Regions from separate parts of the Homo sapiens genome. Here regions 1, 2, 3, 4, 6 and 7 are each linked to region 5. Evidence: promoter capture Hi-C in 16 types of primary human blood cells and fetal thymus (Javierre and others, 2016). All regions are on one chromosome and are shown on one strand. Each heading gives the region's core, a stretch centred on a gene start or on the middle of the fragment in contact. The rest is flanking DNA. Distances are from core to core; before and after follow the strand shown.

Region 1 (2,700 bases), core at 161-2,660, 950 kb after region 5:
CTCTATTAAAAAAAGTATGCTAGCCTGCATCTGCTTAAAAATCAAAGATTTAAGGTAAAAGGAGCCAGGAGATCAATAAGAACCTAAACAGTAAATGGTATTAATCTGAAGGCAAGAAAATAGCACTTTTATTAATAGAAGAGAGAACAAGCTTTTTCTTGTTGAAGTGTGAAGTGTGAATACTGACATTTTGTTTTTGTTTTTTTTTTTACAAAGGAAGAGTGGATAGCAAGTGGGTATACACAGAGATACAGAAAATAGATTTAGGAAACTTATTTTTAGAGGGGGAGGCGAGTCAATATATGGTAATCAAAGTTCTGGAGCAAAGAAAACTTGATCAACACCTACGATTTGATCTAAGAATGGCCAACAAAACAAATAATCCAAAGCAAGGTTGTCTAATGATACACATAGGAGAGGATGATTACCCAATGTTTGTAATCTTCTTTCAACATTTAAAGATGTCTCAGGCTTGTAATTTCATTTGGCCTTCACGTGATCCTCACATAGATGAGGGCAGTGATTTTTTTAATCCCATTTTACAGATGAAGAAATTCAGGTACAGAGAGGCTACCTTCCAGGCCACAGGTGTGATGGGTAAAGATGGTGCTATGTCAGCCAGAAGACAGGAGCTGCGGGGCTTTGTATGGTTCAGAAAAGAGTCTTATTCCTTTTCCTCAACTTTCTGCTAGAAGTTAAAACTCCATGATGAATCCTTTGGCCCAGTCTCTGAAAAATGCATTTCTTACTGTTTCTCTGTTTCTGTTCCTAAGTTGCTTTCATTTCTCTGAGATTCATTCTCTATTCTTTTCTTCTCTATCATTACTTAAAGCTGTGGAAAAACGTACAAACTACACACTGAGAATTTAACCAGATGTAAGCATTAAGTTCTTCAGGGCTGTTTGAGGTCTAAGATGAATGAGCTAAACTTCACCAACAGATGCAGATTCCATAAACACAGAGTTTTCTAGGCACTTAAAAACAGATCCCAGTCTTTACAGCTACACTTGAGTGCCACTAAGAGTAAGCGGCAAACTCAAGCTGGTCTTCCAAATAACTTTATAAACTACAAGAATCCATAAGAACATTCATTTATTGCTCTAACAAACTCTCTCCTCCTTACTCCTTAAAGGTTGCCTCTCTTCTCCTCTTTCCTATGCCAACCTATCATAAGAATATGAACAGTAAGTGCTGGAGACACAGAGCTCACTGCCTGGTACCAGAAAAGACTTGCATGCATAGTAAAGAACTGTCGAAAATAAGGATGACTTAGTGAGTACTAATAGACTGCAATAGCCAAGTAAAAGCTAAATTAAAAGAGAATTAGGAGTAATAAAAAGTCTCTGAGGACTGAGGGGATCATGGTGGACGGGAGGCAGGACTAGACTGCAGCTCCAACTTGGGACAGACAGAGCAGTGTGTGGAGGCTTGCAGTGAGAATTTTCGCTCCAGAACAACTGCAGGAATAAATCAGGAAACCTGAGAAGACCCACAGACCCCCTGAAGGAAGCGGACTGTTCCTGTGGGACCCAAGAGGCACCCCAAATACTGTGCTGGTATACACAGCTGAGAGACCCACAGAGGGTTCACATCACAGGACGCTGTGCAGACAACCCCCAGTAGCAGTCCAGAGCCTGGACTTGCTGGGCGGCTAGATCCAGAAGAGAGATAACAATCACTACAGCTTGGCTCTCAAGAAGCCACATCCATAGGAAAAGGGGGAGAGTACTAAATCAAGGGAACACCCTGTGGGACAAAAGAATCTGACTAACAGCCTTCAGCCCTAGACCTTTCCTCTGACAGAGCCTACCCATATGAGAAGGAACCAGAAAACCAACTCTGGTTATATGACAAAACAATGTTCTTTAATACCTTCAAAAAATCACACTAGCTTATCAGCAATGGACCCAAACCAAGAAGAAATCCCTGATTTACCTGAAAAAGAATTCAGAAGGTTAGTTATTAAGCTAATCAGGGAGGCACCAGAGAAAGGCAAAGCCCAATGTAAGGAAATCCAAAAAATGATACAAGTGAAGGGAAAAATATTCAAGGAAATAGCATAAATAAAAAACAATCAAAACTTCAGGAAACAATGGACACACTTATAGAAACGCAAAATGCTCTGGAAAGTCTCAGCAATGGAACTGAACAAGCAGAAGAAAGAAATTCAGAGCTCAAAGACAAGGTCTTCAAATTAACCCAATCCAACAAAGACAAAGAAAAAAAAAAGAAAATATGAACAAAGCCTCTAAGGAGTCAAGAATTATGTTAAACGACCAAACCTAAGATTGATTGGTGTTCCTGAGGAAGAAGAGAAATTTAAAGTTTGGAAAACATACTTGGGAGAATAATTGAGGAAAACTTCCCCAGCCTTGCTAGAGACCTAGACATCCAAATACAAGAAGCACAAAGAACATCTGGGAAATTCATCACACAAAGATCACTGCCTAGGCACACTCTCATCAGGTAATCTAAAGTTAAGATAAAGGAAAGAATCTTAAGAGTGGTGACACCAAAGTACTACGTAACCTAAAAAGGAAAACCTATCAGATTAACAGCAGATTTCTCAGCAGAGCCCTACAAGCTAGAAGGAATTGCGGCCCTATCTTCAGCCTCCTCAAACAAAACAATTATCAGCCAAAATTTTGTATCCAGCAAAACTAAGCTTCATATGTAAAGAAAAGATAGTCTTTTTCCGAA
Region 2 (2,700 bases), core at 193-2,692, 880 kb after region 5:
ACGATCGGCTGTGGAGAGACATGTGCTCTAGAGGTCCTTTATTGTCTCTTTTTAGTCTTTAATGAAATGTTACAAATGTTACCTCTTTACCGAAATTCCAGCATGCAGAGACCATGTTAATATGTAGCACACACAGCCCCTGACACTGCAGCCCTCAAATAAAAGTTAAAATTATACTGTTACCTTCTGGACCGCAAAGGGATCTCTCTGTTCATGGTCTAAGTATTTCTCCAGATTAAAGAAAGTGTCATAGAAGATGTGAGCCATTCTGCACCTCTTCAGATCTCTTAGAGTTATTTTGCCTACATAAAAATAAACAAATCTGGTAAATTTCATCAAGAGCTGTTTTGGCAAGAGGAAAAAACTTTCCCTGACATCTAAAAGTATAGGTATATGTTTATTATAAAAGTCCTATTTTCAGAATAAAAAAATTTAAATCTCATTTCTTTTTTCAAGGGTATCAATTTCTCAAACCCATTTCTTTTATTGAGGTAAAATTCACTAATAAAGTTCACCATTTAAACAATTTTAAAGTGCATAATTCAGTGGCTTTTAGTACACTCACAATGTTGTACAACCATTACCACTATCTAGTTCTGTAATAATATCATCACCCCAAAAGGAAACTCTGTGCCCATCAAGCAGTCCCTCCCATCTCTCCTCATGTGCTTTCTGTGTCTAAGGAAAAATCTTCTTTCATCCCCCAAACCCCGCTTTCATTTTCTTTTTAAAAAAGAGATACAGTCTCGCTGTGTTGCCTAGGCTGGAGTGCAGTGGCTACTCACAGGAACAATCATAATGCAATCCTCCCACCTCAGCATCCTTAGTAGCAGGGACTACAGGCATACACCACTGTGCCTGGTGTAAAATCCTATTTCTTAAATAGCAGACTTGCCATCAATTGCTACACTAAGCCTGGGCATGGTGACTCACGCCTGTAACCCCAGCACTTTGGGAGACCGAGGTGGGTGGATCACCTGAGGTCAGGAGTTCGAGACCAGCCTGGCCAACATGGTGAAACCCCATCTCTACTAAAAATACAAAAATTAGCTGGGCATGGTGGTGGTTGCCTGTAGTCCCAGCTACTTGGGAGGCTGAGGCAGGAGAATCACTTGAACCCAGGAGGCGGAGGTTGCAGTGAGCTGAGATCACACCATTGTACTCCAGCCTGGCAGACAAAGCGAGACTGCATCTCAAAAAAAAAAAAAAAAAAAAAAGTTGCTACACTAATAGTCAAGGAGAAACTTTAAACACTTCTGTCCTAGGAAGTCTTCTATCAAGACTCTGAAATGTTAAATAATTTAGGACAATCTAGGATTCTTTGCCCTCCTCTGATACATAGGTGAACAGTGCATCTGTCCCATTGCTTGGTCTCACCATCAACAGCTGGCTTCACTAGGTCAAGCATCTGGCACAGTAAATCATGGAATGGCAAGGGCTCAATTCCCATGGCTTCCATCCGTTCACACTGCTCCTCATAGAAGTACTCCAGCTCATACATGGAGAGTACACCGTCTCCATCCACATCCATGCAGCGGAACCAATACTCAATGCTAGATGATAAGGACAATCATTATCATGGGCCTGGTAAAGACCTTTTATTTATCCAGATTTAGTATGTTTCTTTTAAAGTAAAAGTTACATATTACATACACTTCAGGCTTAGATATAGTTTTACAAAGTTTGTTAGAGAAAATGGCGGACCCCTTCTTCCCTTTATTTTTCCACCCAGAATCAACCGTGTTCAACCCCATTTTGCTTTTTACCTTCCTATTTTCAGATAACACGTCTATATCGCTCCTTTCTTGTATTTATTTTCAGAACTATTATTAGAGGCTGGGCACGGTGGCTCATGCCTGTAATCCCAGCACTTTGGGAGACTGAGGTGGGCAGATCACTTCAGGTCAGGAGTTTGAGATCAGCCTGGCCAACATGGTGAAACCCTATCTCTACTAAAAATACAAAAAACTAGCTGCGCATGGTGGTGCATGCCTGTAATCTCAGCTACTTGGGCGGCTGAGGTGGGAGGATTGTTTGAACCTGGGAGGTGGAGGGTGCAGTGAGCCAAGACTGCGCTGCTGCACTCCAGCCTGGGTGAAAGAACGAGACTCCCGCCTCAAGATAAAAACCAACTAAACAACCAACCAACCAAACAAAAAGTAGATTTCACATTATGAAAGTTGAACTTTAGTTCTTCTGTAATTTGTCACCACTTTACCTACACGCCCTTCTCATCCTCTTAACACAGTTAACTTGCTCAACATTCAGAATTTATAATTTTATATTTTTCTTTTATCTATTTGCTTAGTTTTCTGTGTACTTGCTACTAATTCAACCCCCAAATTCTGCCAGTTGTCTAAATCCACACTCAGTTCCATGAGGTGCTCTGTCAATTGCATGTTCTTGATGAAGTCTTCCTTGGTTGCTTCTGACCTACTCTAATCTGGGCTGCTTAGTCTCTAGGCCTCGCTCAGTTTCATCCAGGGATTCCTTTCGCCTTTCTCCTAATTCTTGTTTCTTGCATTTTCCTCATTCTTTGTTTCCTCATTATTTTGTTACTCTGCGCATTCTCTAGTAGCTTCTTGAATGAAAGAGCATGGCAGGTACATTTTTTGAGATCTTGGGTCTTTGAAAATGCCTTTTTTCTACCCTCTAATATGGTTGGTATTTTGGCTAGTTATAGAATTAGAGGTTTGTGGT
Region 3 (2,700 bases), core at 153-2,652, 840 kb after region 5:
TATCTCTGAGCCTCATATGTAGATATGTACATCAGAAAAATGTACATCAGCAATGTCTATTATAGTATTTGACATCACTGGCTTAGCCCTTGCAGGGATCTCCCACAATATTTAAGCAGGAATTTGTGGACATACAGTCCCTTCATCAAAAAGGTACCAATTGGGGCCAATTAGTGAGGGAAAATATGCTGAGGTAGGTATATACAGTAAGTGGCACCTATTCAAGTTCCTAAAACATTGTGTGTGTTTTTTCTTTTGAGATGGAGTCTCGCTGTGTCGCCCAGGCTGGAGTACAGTGGGGCCATCTTGGCTCATTGCAACCTCTGCCTCCCAAGTTCAAGTGATTCTCCTGCCTCAGCCTCCCGAGTAGCTGGGATTTACAGGCATGTGCCACCATGCCCGGGTAATTTTTGTATTTTCAGTAGAGACAGGGTTTCACCATGTTTGCCAGACTGGTCTTGAACTCCTAACCTCAAGTGATCCACCTGTCTCGGCCTCCCAAAATGCTGGGATTACAGGCATGAGCCACTGCGCCCAGTCAACATCTTTTTGTTTTTGAGATGGAGTCTTGCTCTGTTGCCCAGGCTGGAGTGCAGTGGCATGATCTTGGTTCACTGCAACCTCTGCTTTCTGGGTTCAAGCAATTCTCCTGCCTCAGCCTCCCAAGAAGCAGGGATTACGGACGTATATCACCACTCCTGGCTGGTTTTTGTGTTTTCTTAGTAGCAACAGGGTTTCGCCATGTTGGCCAGGCTGGTCTTCAACTCCTGACCTCAGGTGATCCACCCCCATCAGCCTCCCAAAGTGCTGGGATTAAAGGTGTGAGCCACTGCACCCAGCCTAGGCCAACATTTTTGAATAGAGGTTAGAGGTTTAAACCTTTTAAAAAGCTTACTTGATAGAAAATTGTTCCCTATGACTACCAGTTTATGATACTGTCAAAAGTTATAATTTGTTCATTTAATAAAAATATTCCATTCCATTCTTGTTTCCACTCCTCTTCCCCCATCTCCTTGAGGCCTCAATGCGGCATGGGATGTGCTGGATAAGGAGGCAATAGGAGAGGAACTTTCCGCTAATGCAAGTGAAATGGTTGATGGCAGAGCCTCTGTTCTGGGGAACAAAATTCTCAAAACCAATGCTGCTGATTTCTTGTCAGGATGGGAGCATCTTCCCCTTGGTGCCCTAACGTGTTGTCTGTAAGCTATCAGTGTTAAATACCTCAGTGTAGGTCTATGAATAACGCATATTTTCAGAGTTAAGTGTGAAGTGTGACTCATTCAGTAAATATTTGAACTCCTGTTGCTAAGTGTCAGAGCCAAATGCTAGGATTATAATGATGAAAAAGACTGAATCAGCCCTCTCCTCACAGCACTTGAAGCCTAATGGAGACCTTATGGAGTTAGGGGTTAAGTGATTTAGGCTTAGAGCACAGGCTTTGGAGTCAGACTATAAAAGTCAGGTTCCAATCTGGGTTTGATCACTTAATGTGATTTTGGGCATGTTGGTGAGTGACACCTAATCCTATATTGGGGGAGGGATTATACATTTTTGTGTATGTCATTTTTGAATAAAACATTTGCAAAAGGAAGTTCATTCAATAACCCTCCTTTGTCAGCATCCTGGAGACTCCTCTTAATTTTGGTGGTTCTCAACTAGGGTGATTTTGTCCCCCGCCGCCAGGGGACATTTGGGCATGTCTGGAGACATGTCTGTGTCTTGACTGTCACCACTGAGTGGGTCCTACTGGCATCTAGTGGGTAGAGTGCAGGGATGGTGCTAAACATCCTACAATGTGCCGTATGTCTCACAATAAAATTACCCATCTTAGAACTCTTGCTCCTTCAATGCCAGTGCGTCCCAGGTTCTGGACTAATAAGCTCTTCTCGTTTTGTACTTCCCTGGTAAGCTTAGTCTTTCCCATGGCTTTACTCACTGCCTACTCACCTGTGGTTTCCAAACTATGTCCAGCCTCAGCCTCTTTCTAAGCTGGAGAACTCCATATATCCAGCTGCCTACTATATAGATGGCTCTTTCAGAACAGCAGCATGTATAAACTTGAACTCATCTTTCCCACTGCCCTGGTTCTCCCTATTTTAGTCAATGGCACTGTCATCTGCCCACTCAAAGCCAGAAACTCGGTTATCCCAAGTTCCTCTTTCCTCACCTCACTACAGTTGACCATATGGATACAACCCTGCCTCTTCCTCCCTACCACCACTGGCTTAAGTTCAGGGTACCATACTTTCTTGTTTGGATTACACTCTTGCCACATATCCTTTGCTACTGCCATACCAGGCTGTTTATAGTGTTGGAATAGGTTATGGTCTTGGGACCTAATGCCACTGTACATGTTTTTCAATTGCCTGAAATGCCCTTCCCTCTTTGGCTAGCTTGTGTTCATCTTTTAATCTGAGATGTCATGTACAGGTTTTCTGATTATTCACTCCTGAATTAATTAACCACATCTCTGATTCAGATGTATGTAATGGCTTCCTTATTTGTCTCCCTACTTCTGTTCTTGCACTTCCACTAATCTGGCAGAATAATCTTCAGAAAACCTAAGGGGTAGGGATTATATCACTCCCTTGCTTAACAATTTTCAGTGGCTTCCCTAGGCCCTGCATGATCTGGCCCCTGCTAGACTTTGTAACCACATCTCCCTCTGTTGCTCACTATATTCTGGCCATACTAGGCTTT
Region 4 (2,700 bases), core at 196-2,695, 900 kb after region 5:
GAAGCAACGGCCTGAGCTGTATGTTGGCCCCTTTAAGCCATGGCTGGAGCTGAAACAGCTGGGATGCAGGTCACCATGTTCAGAGGCTGCATAGAGCAGGGGGGGCCCCAGGCCTGGCCCAGAAAACCATTTTTCCCTCCTAGGCCTCCAGGCCTGTGATGGGAGGGGCTGTCATGATGGTCTCTGACATGCCCTGGAGACATTTTCCCCATTGTTTTGGTGATTAGCATTTGACTCCCCATTATTTATGCAAATTTCTGCAGTGGGCTTGAATTTCTCCCCGGAAAATGGGTTTTTATTTTCTACTGCATTATCAGGCAGCAAATTTTCCAAACTTTTATGCACTGTCACTTCTTGAATGCTTTGCTGCTTAGGAATTTCTTCCACCACATACCCCAAATCATCTCTTTCAAGTTCAAAGTTCCACAGATCTCTAGGGCAGGGGCAAAATGCCAAGTCTCTTTGCATAGCAAGAGTGACCTTTACTCCAGTTCCCAACAAGTTCCTCATCTCCACCTGAGATCACTTCAGCCTGGATTTTATTGTCCATATCACTATCAGCATTTTGGTTAAAGCCATTCAAGTCTCTAGGAAGTTCCAAACTTTCCCACATGTTCCTGTCTTTATCTGAGCCCTCCAAACTGTTCCAACCTCTGCCTATTACCTAGTTCCAAAGTCCCTTCCACATTTTCGGGTATCTTTACAGCAGCGCCCCATGCTACTGGTACCAATTTACTATATTAGTCTGTTCTCATGCTGCTAGTAAAGACATACCTGAGACTGGGTAATTTATAATGGGAAGAGTTTAATGGACTCATAGTTCCACATGGCTGAGAAGGCCTCACAATCATGGCGGAAGGCAAAGGAGAAGCAACAGCACATGTTACAGGGTGGCAGGCAAGAGAGCATGTGCAGAGGAACTCCCCTTTATAAAACCATCAGCTCTCATGAGACTTATTCACTATCATGAGAACTACATGGGAAAGACCCACTCCCATGATTCAATTACCTGCCACCAGGTCCCTGCCACAACAGGTGGGGATTATGGGAGCTACAATTCAAGATGAGATTTGGGTGGGAACATAGCCAAACCATACCACCATCTTTACAAAAAAATACAAAAAAATTAGCCAGGTATGGTGGCATGTGCCTGTAGTCCCAGCTACTTAGGGGCTGAGGTGGTAGGATGGCTTGAGCCCAGGAGGTTGAGGTTACAGTGAGCCGTGTTCATGCTTCTGCATTCCAGCCTAGGTGACAAAGTGAGACGCTGTCTCAAAAAAACCAAGGATATTAAATCAGTAGGCAACAGGTTCTAGATTTACCGCTGGCAAAAATGAAGTAAAAAGGGTATTATCATGTGATATGTAATTTTTTGTTTTCTGACAAAAGAAAGCACGCAAAATTCATCTGCAGAGACGTATCTTTCTGGAACAAAATTTCCAAAAGTAAATTTTTGTGAGTCCTTGAAAATAAAACTTGGCAAGTTAAAAACATTATTTTCATGCTTGGCTTTTTACAGAAATATTGTTAAGTGGGAAGGGTTATAAAGGTGTATACATATTCTCTTTCAAACAGATTTAAACAGGTGTGGATCTTATTCAATTCATCATCAGAAAATACACACCAGTATAAAGACTCATCGCTTTATCAAAACTAAGACTGTGATTGGTTACTTACTTCCAAACTCCTTCTCCTACATCTGGCCTTTTATTAATTTAATAAAAAATTATATTATCTTCACTCATCCCCTCTTAAAAATTATTGGCCTGTAAAGAGGACTTGATTAGGTTTAGAATTTAGCAAACGGGAATTTCTCATAATGAGTAGTGATAATTTATATAACTCTTTAAAATGGTTAAGTCTTAGCATCTACAGAATCACTTACCCTGGTCATTGTATCGAGACAGATCGGCCTGGCTGATGTAGAGGTCGTGATCAGTATCTAGTTCCCAGAATTTACAATAAATAACATAGAAATGTTCATAGGAGAAGTAATCTGTAATTTGGTTTATATCTTCCTCTTCTTCCAAAAGTGCTAGGGTCTGAAATTATATGAAAAGAAGAATTTAAACATTATGAAAAAGCAGCTTTGGCCACTGTGCAGAGTCTAGCGAATTTCTGTTTTAAACTGAATTTAAAATTTTTTTCTGGTACCAAATCAGAAACCCTTTAATAGGCAACCTCATCCTACCTTTAATCAACCAATCAATCTATAAGCATTTACTGAGCTCTGTAATATGCTCAGTGAAGGGCTGGATGCTGTGGAGGATGTAAAAGCAGGGGAAGGGAAGTACCATTACCTTGGGGACTATAGTTGGTCAGAGGTCAGAGACTGGCATGAAAAGAACAATTAGATCATAGTCTTAATTATTTGGCCAGAAACAAATACTGTTTTTAATTTTCAAAGTTATGTGAGCAACATTAAGAGGGGTAGGCATCAACATATAGGGTTTCATTTTGTAATAAAATTAAGTTTATATCACAAAGGTTACTCATATATACAATAGTGATGATACATGGTGGCCTGGCATAGGCATGGCAGGTAGAGATGCAGGGCCCTGAGCTGGAAGTAAACCTGGGTCTTCCCTGACTCACTGTACTCCCCTACGGCAAAATCCAGAATCAATGATACTGAACCCACAATTCTGTTGTCAGCCAAATTATTATGTAAGTGGGCAGATAAATAAAGACATATTCAGA
Region 5 (2,700 bases), core at 146-2,645:
GATTCCTAAGCTCTGTCCTTTCTAAATCAGCCATGTTTCTTGGATTCATCATCTCCTTCCCATCCCCTTCCAAACTCTTGGGATCAGTAGGAGTATTACAACCCCCTCCTCACTCTTCCCCTGTCCTGCAGGCTTGCCCTACTCTGGTTCACTTTCCACACAGCAGCCAGAGTGTTGCTTTGTAAGATAGACCTGGTCGGCCGGGCGCCATGGCTCATGCCTGTAATCCCAGCACTTTGGGAGGCCGAAGTGGGCAGATGACTTGAGGTCAGGAGTTCCAGACCAGCCTGGAAAACATAGTGAAACCCTGTCTCTACTAAAAATACAAAAATTAGCCAGGCATGGTGGTGCACGCCTGTAGTCCCAGCTACTCAGGAGGCTGAGGCAGGAGAATCACTTGAACCCAGGAGACAGAGGTTGCAGTGAGCTGAGATCACGCCACTGCACACCAACCTGGGTGACAGAGTGAGACTCCGTATCAAAAAAAAAAAGAGATAGACCTGGTCTAGATCCTCTCCTCTTTCATTGGCTACCCTCTACTGACTTGGTCAAGCTTCGTGTCAAAGCCCTTCACCACATGATCAACTGCTTCCCTACCCCCTGCCCATCAGCCCTTGCCTCTCCTGTTCCGCAAACACACATGTCCTTTTATACAATGACCAGTGCTTGTACTCAGCCACATTTGGCCACCTATCTGGATTCCTCTATTACTTCTTTCTCAATCCTTTTCCAGGTACTACTCCAAAAGAAAAGTTATTTATTTCCCACAGAAGTCATTACAGAAGGGCAATTTTCTGGTGGCTCTGTTAAGTGTATAAATCCTCTTGCACAACAAAGCTGCTTACGTGGGCAGTAAATATGCAGTTAATGAGGCCTCAAGTGGGAGGCACAATTTATGGAGGCACAATCAGAGTAGGGAGCAGCAGTCCTGGTGCCACCTCTTCACTTCCAGAGCAGCTTTCCTTCCAGGTTCCCAATGTCAGCATCCCCAACACCTGCACACCCTGACACAGACAGTCAGGAATGACTTGAGTAGTCAAAGGGCATGACAGAGAGCAGCATGTAGAAAGCAGTTGGCAATTTTTCAAATATACCAGTAAGGGTTGTTTGTGTTCACAATACTCTGGCTTTGCAGGACTATTCTGATGCTAAAAAGAGTCTAGAAAGTTTAGGTGAACATGGTTCCTAAAGGAGGGGCTGGTTGGGGTGGGAGTGTAAGGAGAGAAGTGCCTTACTTGAGTTTCTATTAAAGGGATGCTTCAGGATGCTCCAGGCTGAGGTCTGTGAGCCCAATGTGGCCCTGACACGAAGGTTGTATGGCACAGTGGCCGTGATGTCATCAGTGACATCACACTCAGGACCTTCAGTGAGTGAGCACCAGCTGCTGGGGATCCAGATGTGGCTCGTGTACAGGCTCTCGTACTCCCTGTCAAAGAGAGGAGGGCACAGAGTTACACCAGCCCCTCTGACACAGGCTCAGTTATGGTTGCAAGTAACTGACTTCGTTCACCTACTTTGTACAGGTAAGTAAAATAAGTACTTTCTCATTATCCTAGCTCCTCCACTCTCCTCCCTACCAACCATCCATCGTCCCTTACTCCTTTTATTGCCAGATAGGGAAAGCTAGGCATAAACATCAATGTGTCTGGATCTCTTTTATCTCTTCATCTCCAGGGTCATCACCCTAATCTCAGCCACTGTCATTCCTTGCCTTGCTGTGATCTCCCAGCTTGGACACCTGCCATTCTCAAAACCATTCACCACTCAGCAGATTGTGACGTTTCTCTCCTTAATGGCTTCCTACAGGACTTAGAATGGGATCCAAACTCTTGCCAGTGGTCTTACAAGATGCTTTGGCCTTCTCTCTCACTCTGCTCCGAAGCGTGATATTCTTGCCACATTGGTCATTTCTCCAAAATGCTGAGCACTTTTTGCCTTAGGACCTTTGACTAACTGTTCACTCCATCTCAAACGCTCTGCCCCTGCTGTTCGCATGGCTGGCTCCTCTTGTCCTTCAGATATGGCATAAATATCACCTCCTCAGAGAGGCCATCCCAGGCCATCTAATATAAAGGAGCCTCAGTGTCAACTCTCTATGGCATCAGCCTTTTAGCTTCCTCCTAGCACTGATTACTATCCAAAATTCCCTAGAGCAGTGCTTTCCAAAAATAAACTTTCTGTGATGATGCAAATATTCTAAATCGATGTTGTTCAATATGGTAACCACTGGCCACATGTGGCTATTGAACACCTAAAATGTGACTAGTGTGGCAGGAAACAGACATTTTAATTTAATTTAATTTAATTTAATTTAATTTAAATTTAAATAGCCAGCTGTGGCTGGTGGCTACCATACTAGAGAATGCTGGCCTAGTATATTTATCATCTGTATCCTCCTCTAGATGTAAGCTCTCAAAATCCAGAAACCTTGTCAACTGTATCCCTGAGCCTAGAAGAATGTCTACACATGTAGGTGTTCAGTCTGTATTCATTGTTAATGAAATATATGGAGCAATTTCTGTGTCCTTATCACTATTCAATAGCTGCAAGCACCTGAACACCTGGAGAAGACTAGAGCCTGCTCAGCCCCAGGGCCAGCTGACCTTTAGGATTATAGTTCGTTTTGGCTCTAGGTATAAGCTTATAGTCAGGAAAAGTGAGGACTCCTCCACCCTTAAAGGATCTGAGTCTCCAGTGATT
Region 6 (2,700 bases), core at 29-2,528, 930 kb after region 5:
TTACTTTGATGCAATTCCATTTGTCTATTTTTTCCTTTGTGCTTTTGGGTTCATATCCAAAAAAAAAATCAATGCTAAGACGAGTGTCACGCAGCCTTACCCCTATGTTTTCTTTACAGTTTCAGGTATTACATTTAAGTCTTTAACCCATTTTCAGTTGATTTTTATATACGGTGTAAGATAAAGGTTTTGTTTTACGGTTCTTATTGTATATAACCTTCCTTAATATAGTACTTTTTAAAATAACTGGTTTTTTTTTTTTAGAATAGTTTTAGGTTTATAAAAAAATTAAGAAAACAGCACTGAGAGTTCCCATATACCCTGCGCCCAGATTCCTCAATTATTAACACCTTACACTTACTATATGGTCCACTTGTTAAAATTAAACTGATATTGACACATTATTTTTAAAGTCCATACTTTATTCACATTTCCTTAATTTTTACCTGATGTCTTCTTTCTATTCCAGTGTTCTATCCAGGTCATCATATTCTATTTAGTTATGTCTCCTTAGACTTCTTTTGGCTGTGACAGTTTCTTAGACTTTCCTTACTTTTGATGACCTTGACAGTTCTGATGAGTACTACTCAGGTATTATGTAGGATATTTCATTACTGGAATCTGCCTGATGTTTTCCTCATGATTAGACTGGGTTTATGGATTTTTGGGAGAAAGGCCAGAGAAGTAACATGTCCTTTGCACCATATCTTGCCAAAGGTACATACTAACAACGTGATTGATGACTGCTGATGTTGGCCTTGATCATCAGACTGAGGTAGTATCTGTCAGGCTCCTCCACTGTAAAGTTACTCCCCACACCCTGAAATCACTATGCATAGCCTACTCTTAAGGAATGGTGATTTACGCTCCCCTCTTTAAGACTGCAGTGTCTACTAAACTGTTTGCAATTCTGCATAGATTTGTTTCTTCTCCCCAATCATTTATTTATATCAGTATGTGCAATTTGTTTTTAAAAAATTCTCATCACCACATTCCATAAAGATGATTTCCCAAGTAGTGGTATTTCTCTAAGTTGCTCCAGAGTCTTAGGGTGCAAACCACAGTTAGTAAGCTCCTTATGAACAACCTCTGTATCAAGTACTTTGTCCATTGGCAGGCAGGTGTTAAATACAGCAGTTGGCTCGTGTGGATACAGTACTGCAGAGAAAGACCCGCTCTGTGAAGATTTGAGCAGCATGGTCAGTGAATGCAGAGAATGAGGCACGATAGAACCTGTAATCTCCAAACTAAACTGGTCTCTGTATCCAGAAAGAGCTGTGTCTTCACATTTACACTTTGTGCCTTAAGCATTTGCATTATGGCACCTCGGAGAGCAACAGGGGATAAGAGGGTCAGAGGAAGTCCTACCTGTGGACCTGAGGTAGCAACTAAACTCTTAGAGTTGATCAAAAAATTGAGCAATGTAAAGATGTTGATTCCTTTCACCAACACAACAGACTCAGGTCTGTGATCCATTTGTACTTCATGTTTCTTTTTACGCAGCTTGATAGAAAGTATGTCTGGCTTTTTAATTTTATCTTGCACAGTCATCTCTTCTATATTTATAACTGGAGATCCTGAACACCAAAGTAAGCCTAAAAGGAATCTTTGAGGAAAAAAGCCTTGTAGCAAGCAAAGTCAAAATTCTTGAAGTTAAGGAAATATACTTTAAAATATTGAAATGTTTATAAACATTAACTTTTATTACATGCACTGAGCAGTAGCATTTTAAGGTTTTAAATCAGTGTTTTCTGCTTTTACTATTTTCAGATTAAATTTTTAGATATAAAGATAAAAAACTCAGAGAACTCAAATGAGATATCTATATCCCTACAACCGAATTATATAGTGAGTAGAAAACTGAATTAATGCATTTCTTTGCAAACAGGAAATTGAGACTAAACACACAGCAGCTATCTCATGGCATTCTGACCAATGGCATCAGGGCAAAAATATGTTACTTTACCATTTACCTAAGACTGTTAGCAGGTTCTTGTTTTACAAAGGTAGAAAATAAATGTAGACAACATCTACTGAGCTGACTGATGATGCCTTTACCTGAACATCTTTCCTACTGATTTATAATTCCTTTATTTTCACATATACTAAATATTTTTAAATGCATGTTAATTCAGATAAAAAGGCATTTTGTATTCCACATAGAATAGCGTTAAGAATTGTGAAGTAGGCTGGACGCGGTGGCTCATGCCTGTAATCTCAGCACTTTGGGAGGCCGAGGTGGGCGGATCACGAGGTCAAGAGATCCAGACCATCCTGGCCAACATGATGAAACCCCATCTCTACTAATAATACAAAAATTAGCTGGGTGTGGTGGCGCGTGCCTGTAATCCCAGCTACCTGGGAGGCTGAGGAAGGAGAATTGCTTGAACCCGGGAGGCGGAGGTTGCAGTGAGCCAAGATCGTGCCACTGCACTCCAGCCTGGCGACAGGGCGAGCCTCCAACTCAAAAAAAAAAAAAAAAAAAAAAAAGAATTGTGAAGTATACCGAGCTGTCATGGCAAAGTAGTATTTAATGTGCTTATAGGTGTATGTGTATGTGTGTAGGGGGAATTATATAATTCACATTTTTAAAATAAAAGTGCTTAGAAATAAAAAGCACTGGGTAAAGAAATAATAGTATTTAAGTATTTGTTCACTTTATAATCCAGAAAATAAAACACCACGTTTATTTCCCCCCCA
Region 7 (2,700 bases), core at 187-2,686, 860 kb after region 5:
AACTGTCCCTCTAAGCACTGCTTTAGGGTGCTTAGAAAACATCCCATATGTTTTCTTTCTTTTTTGAGACAAGGTCTCAGTTTGTCACTTGGGCTGGAGTGCAGTGGTGTGGATCGTAGCTCACTGTAACCTCAAACTTCTGGGTTCAAGCAATCCTCTTGCTTCAGCCTCTCAGGCAGCTAGAACTATAGGTGTATGCCATCCCCATGCCCGGCTAATTCTGTAGAAGTGGGGTCTCGCTGTGCTGCCCAGTCTGATCTTGAACTCCTGGCCCCACGCAATCTTCCCAACTTGTCCTCCCAGAGTGCTCAGATTACTGGCATGAGCCACTGTGCCCAGTCCATCCCATATATTTTCACATGTTCTTTTCATTCATTTAAAGATAATTTTGAATTTCCCTGTGGTTTTTTCTTTGACCTATGCATCTTAAGAGTGTGTCATTTAATTTCCAAATATTTTGGTGTTCCCAGATCTGTTTTCTAATTTAATTCAATTTTTAATCAAACAACATATTTATATTATTGTAATCATTTGAATTTATCAAGTCTTATTTTATCTGCCAAAGATGTGGTCTGGAAAAGTTCTGTGTACACCTGGATGAAACAGTGTATATATATTTTTGTTGTTTTGTGGAGTGTGCCCTAATAATGATTAAATCAAATGTGTTGACTATTAAGTCTTCTGTATCCTTGAGTGTCTGCAATCGTTCTATCAATTACTGAATGAGAAGTGTTGAAATCTCCAACTGTAATTGTTGACTTATCTATTTCTCCTTTCAAGTCTGGAAATTTTTATTTAATGTATTTTGTGGCTGTGTTGTTTGATACACATACATTTAAAATGATCACATCTGGCTACTGCATTTTAACACTAGTGAAGCAGGAATATTTATGTTTGTTTCCTGGGTAAAATGTCTGTCTTTTGAACTGGACAATATTTATGTTCTTACTATTGATTTTGAAGAACCCTATTTATAAAACAAAATATTGGTCATATGATGCAACCCAGTTTGCCCTTTGATTGTGATGCAGAATTTTGTCACTTTTTTGGGTTACTTTTAAAATTTACTCAAATCTATAAATAATTTCCTTATACATTTCTTCCATTACTTTTATGCTTTTAAAGTCTTTATTTTCATGCAGACATTAGTTTAATATGCATTTATTTTGCCCCACCATGGAGAACCAACATTTTACTGACTAGCCTTTTCCTGACACATTTAACATGCTATCTTTATCATATGCTACCCATTGCTATGCATAATTTTTCTGTTTTGACGTGAATAATATACTTGCTTTAATTATTACTATGGTTTTATATAGTCCATCTCTCCTGTACCCCACCATACCTTTGTTTCTTTTCATAACTCATTGCTATTCTGTGTCCTTATTATGCCATGGGAACTTTAAAACTAGCTTACTAAGTTCCACAACGTATTTTGGGGGATAAATTATATTAAATTAATAAATTAACACAGCAACTGGTCATTTTTAACTGGTTATTTCTGGGATATGGAACTAAAACCCTTTATCCATTAAAGAGTTACTTATCTTAGTTTGCTTAGTTTTAAGATTTTTTCCCCCAAACTACAAAATATATTAAATTTTATGAGATGCCTTCAAAGAATCAATTTAAATTTTTATAATTTTGTCTCCTTTAATCGCTAATGACAGATTTTGTAAGGATAAACTAATGTTCCAGTCCTGGGATAACACCCATTTACTTCTGATGTATTCTTTTATACATTGAGAGATTTGACAATTTACATAATCTTCTGTGGTTCAGTTTTCGTTAACTGTAACATAACAGTATCCAACACATAGGGCTCTGTGAGCACAATGAATTAAAATATGTAGAACAGTGCTTGTTACATAGTATGCTCTCTGTGTGTATGTATAAATAGATTTTTTTGTTGTTGTTTACGTAGAAGTGTTTGATTTCTTCCTAATATATACAGTTGACCCTTGAATAATATCGGTCTGAACTTCATGGGTCTTCTTATACATGGATTTCCAACAAAATGCAGGTAAAAATACAGTATTCAAGGGATGCAAAACTCATATATATTTAACTGCAGGAGGGTAAACTTTCATATATGTGGGTTTTTGCAAGGCTGACTGTGGGACTTGACTATATGCAAATTTGGGTACACACAGGCAGTCCTGGAATCAATCCTTCACATATATGGAGGGAGAGTTGTACTTTATTTTGTCATCCTGTTTCTTTTCAAGTCTGAGGCTCACTTTGTCACCCAGGATGGAGTGCAGTGGTGTGATCATAGTTCACCATAACGTTAAACTTCTGGGCTCAAGTGATCCTTCCGCCTCAGCTTCCCAGAGTGTTGGGGTTACAGGTGTGAGTCACCGTGCCCAGCTATGTCATCCTTTTTCATGCATCTTGAATGGATTGCCTAATTCATTTATTTCAGTATACAGGCTACAAATTTCTTCCTGTCCATATCCCACAGGTTGTAATAAATAGAATACTTTCATTGTCTGGTTCTAAAAAGATCGTAATTTGTATTTTTTTGATTTTTTAAGCAAAAGATTTCCTTTTTTGCTTAAAGGTTATCTTAAAATATATTTTTAAACCTTCAGAATTTTATGTTTTGAGAATTCTCAGGTATTGCATTGGAAGGGAACATTGGGAAAAAAATCAGCTAGACTTCTGTTAGATAATCAAGTGAAAACCTAGCATGTT

The links. Contacts are between HindIII fragments. The CHiCAGO score rates a contact against its expected background, and 5 or more counts as called.
Region 1: a contact is called between a fragment that was not itself captured here and the fragment with the promoter of IL20RB-AS1 in region 5, in 2 of 17 cell types (naive CD4 T cells and naive CD8 T cells). The highest score is 5.7, in naive CD4 T cells.
Region 2: a fragment that was not itself captured here is called in contact with the fragment with the promoter of IL20RB-AS1 in region 5 in 12 of 17 cell types (neutrophils, monocytes, total CD4 T cells and 9 more); the score reaches 18.5 in neutrophils.
Region 3: a contact is called between a fragment that was not itself captured here and the fragment with the promoter of IL20RB-AS1 in region 5, in 8 of 17 cell types (naive CD8 T cells, fetal thymus, naive CD4 T cells and 5 more). The highest score is 8.4, in naive CD8 T cells.
Region 4: a fragment that was not itself captured here is called in contact with the fragment with the promoter of IL20RB-AS1 in region 5 in 15 of 17 cell types (fetal thymus, naive CD4 T cells, total B cells and 12 more); the score reaches 16.6 in fetal thymus.
Region 6: a contact is called between a fragment that was not itself captured here and the fragment with the promoter of IL20RB-AS1 in region 5, in 11 of 17 cell types (neutrophils, naive CD8 T cells, total CD8 T cells and 8 more). The highest score is 13.2, in neutrophils.
Region 7: a contact is called between a fragment that was not itself captured here and the fragment with the promoter of IL20RB-AS1 in region 5, in 9 of 17 cell types (fetal thymus, neutrophils, naive B cells and 6 more). The highest score is 10.8, in fetal thymus.

Annotation. Positions count from the first base shown.
Region 1 is chr3:136,035,452-136,038,151 of GRCh38, reverse strand. The region is part of intron 3 of PPP2R3A (protein phosphatase 2 regulatory subunit B''alpha); the gene reads right to left. Among named protein-coding and RNA genes, the nearest start is that of PPP2R3A, 71 kb to the right of the region's middle. The HindIII fragment of the contact is 2,514 bases long and covers 154-2,667 here.
Region 2 is chr3:136,100,860-136,103,559 of GRCh38, reverse strand. It overlaps PPP2R3A (protein phosphatase 2 regulatory subunit B''alpha), which reads right to left. Exons shown (of 14, transcript NM_002718.5): 11 at 1,378-1,553; 12 at 184-302. Among named protein-coding and RNA genes, the nearest start is that of MSL2, 94 kb to the left of the region's middle. The HindIII fragment of the contact is 3,912 bases long and covers 1-2,700 here.
Region 3 is chr3:136,141,348-136,144,047 of GRCh38, reverse strand. All of the region lies in intron 13 of PPP2R3A (protein phosphatase 2 regulatory subunit B''alpha), which reads right to left. Among named protein-coding and RNA genes, the nearest start is that of MSL2, 54 kb to the left of the region's middle. The HindIII fragment of the contact is 1,019 bases long and covers 893-1,911 here.
Region 4 is chr3:136,081,607-136,084,306 of GRCh38, reverse strand. PPP2R3A (protein phosphatase 2 regulatory subunit B''alpha) reads right to left here. Exons shown (of 14, transcript NM_002718.5): 8 at 1,886-2,042. Among named protein-coding and RNA genes, the nearest start is that of MSL2, 110 kb to the left of the region's middle. The HindIII fragment of the contact is 7,708 bases long and covers 1-2,700 here.
Region 5 is chr3:136,980,886-136,983,585 of GRCh38, reverse strand. IL20RB-AS1 (IL20RB antisense RNA 1) reads left to right here and starts at 1,395. Exons shown (of 4, transcript NR_183729.1): 1 at 1,395-1,523. IL20RB (interleukin 20 receptor subunit beta) reads right to left here. Exons shown (of 7, transcript NM_144717.4): 3 at 1,236-1,426. The HindIII fragment of the contact is 2,087 bases long and covers 556-2,642 here.
Region 6 is chr3:136,054,044-136,056,743 of GRCh38, reverse strand. All of the region lies in intron 5 of PPP2R3A (protein phosphatase 2 regulatory subunit B''alpha), which reads right to left. It also overlaps the pseudogene DONSONP1. Among named protein-coding and RNA genes, the nearest start is that of PPP2R3A, 90 kb to the right of the region's middle. The HindIII fragment of the contact is 5,644 bases long and covers 1-2,700 here.
Region 7 is chr3:136,121,849-136,124,548 of GRCh38, reverse strand. The region is part of intron 13 of PPP2R3A (protein phosphatase 2 regulatory subunit B''alpha); the gene reads right to left. Among named protein-coding and RNA genes, the nearest start is that of MSL2, 73 kb to the left of the region's middle. The HindIII fragment of the contact is 2,936 bases long and covers 1-2,700 here.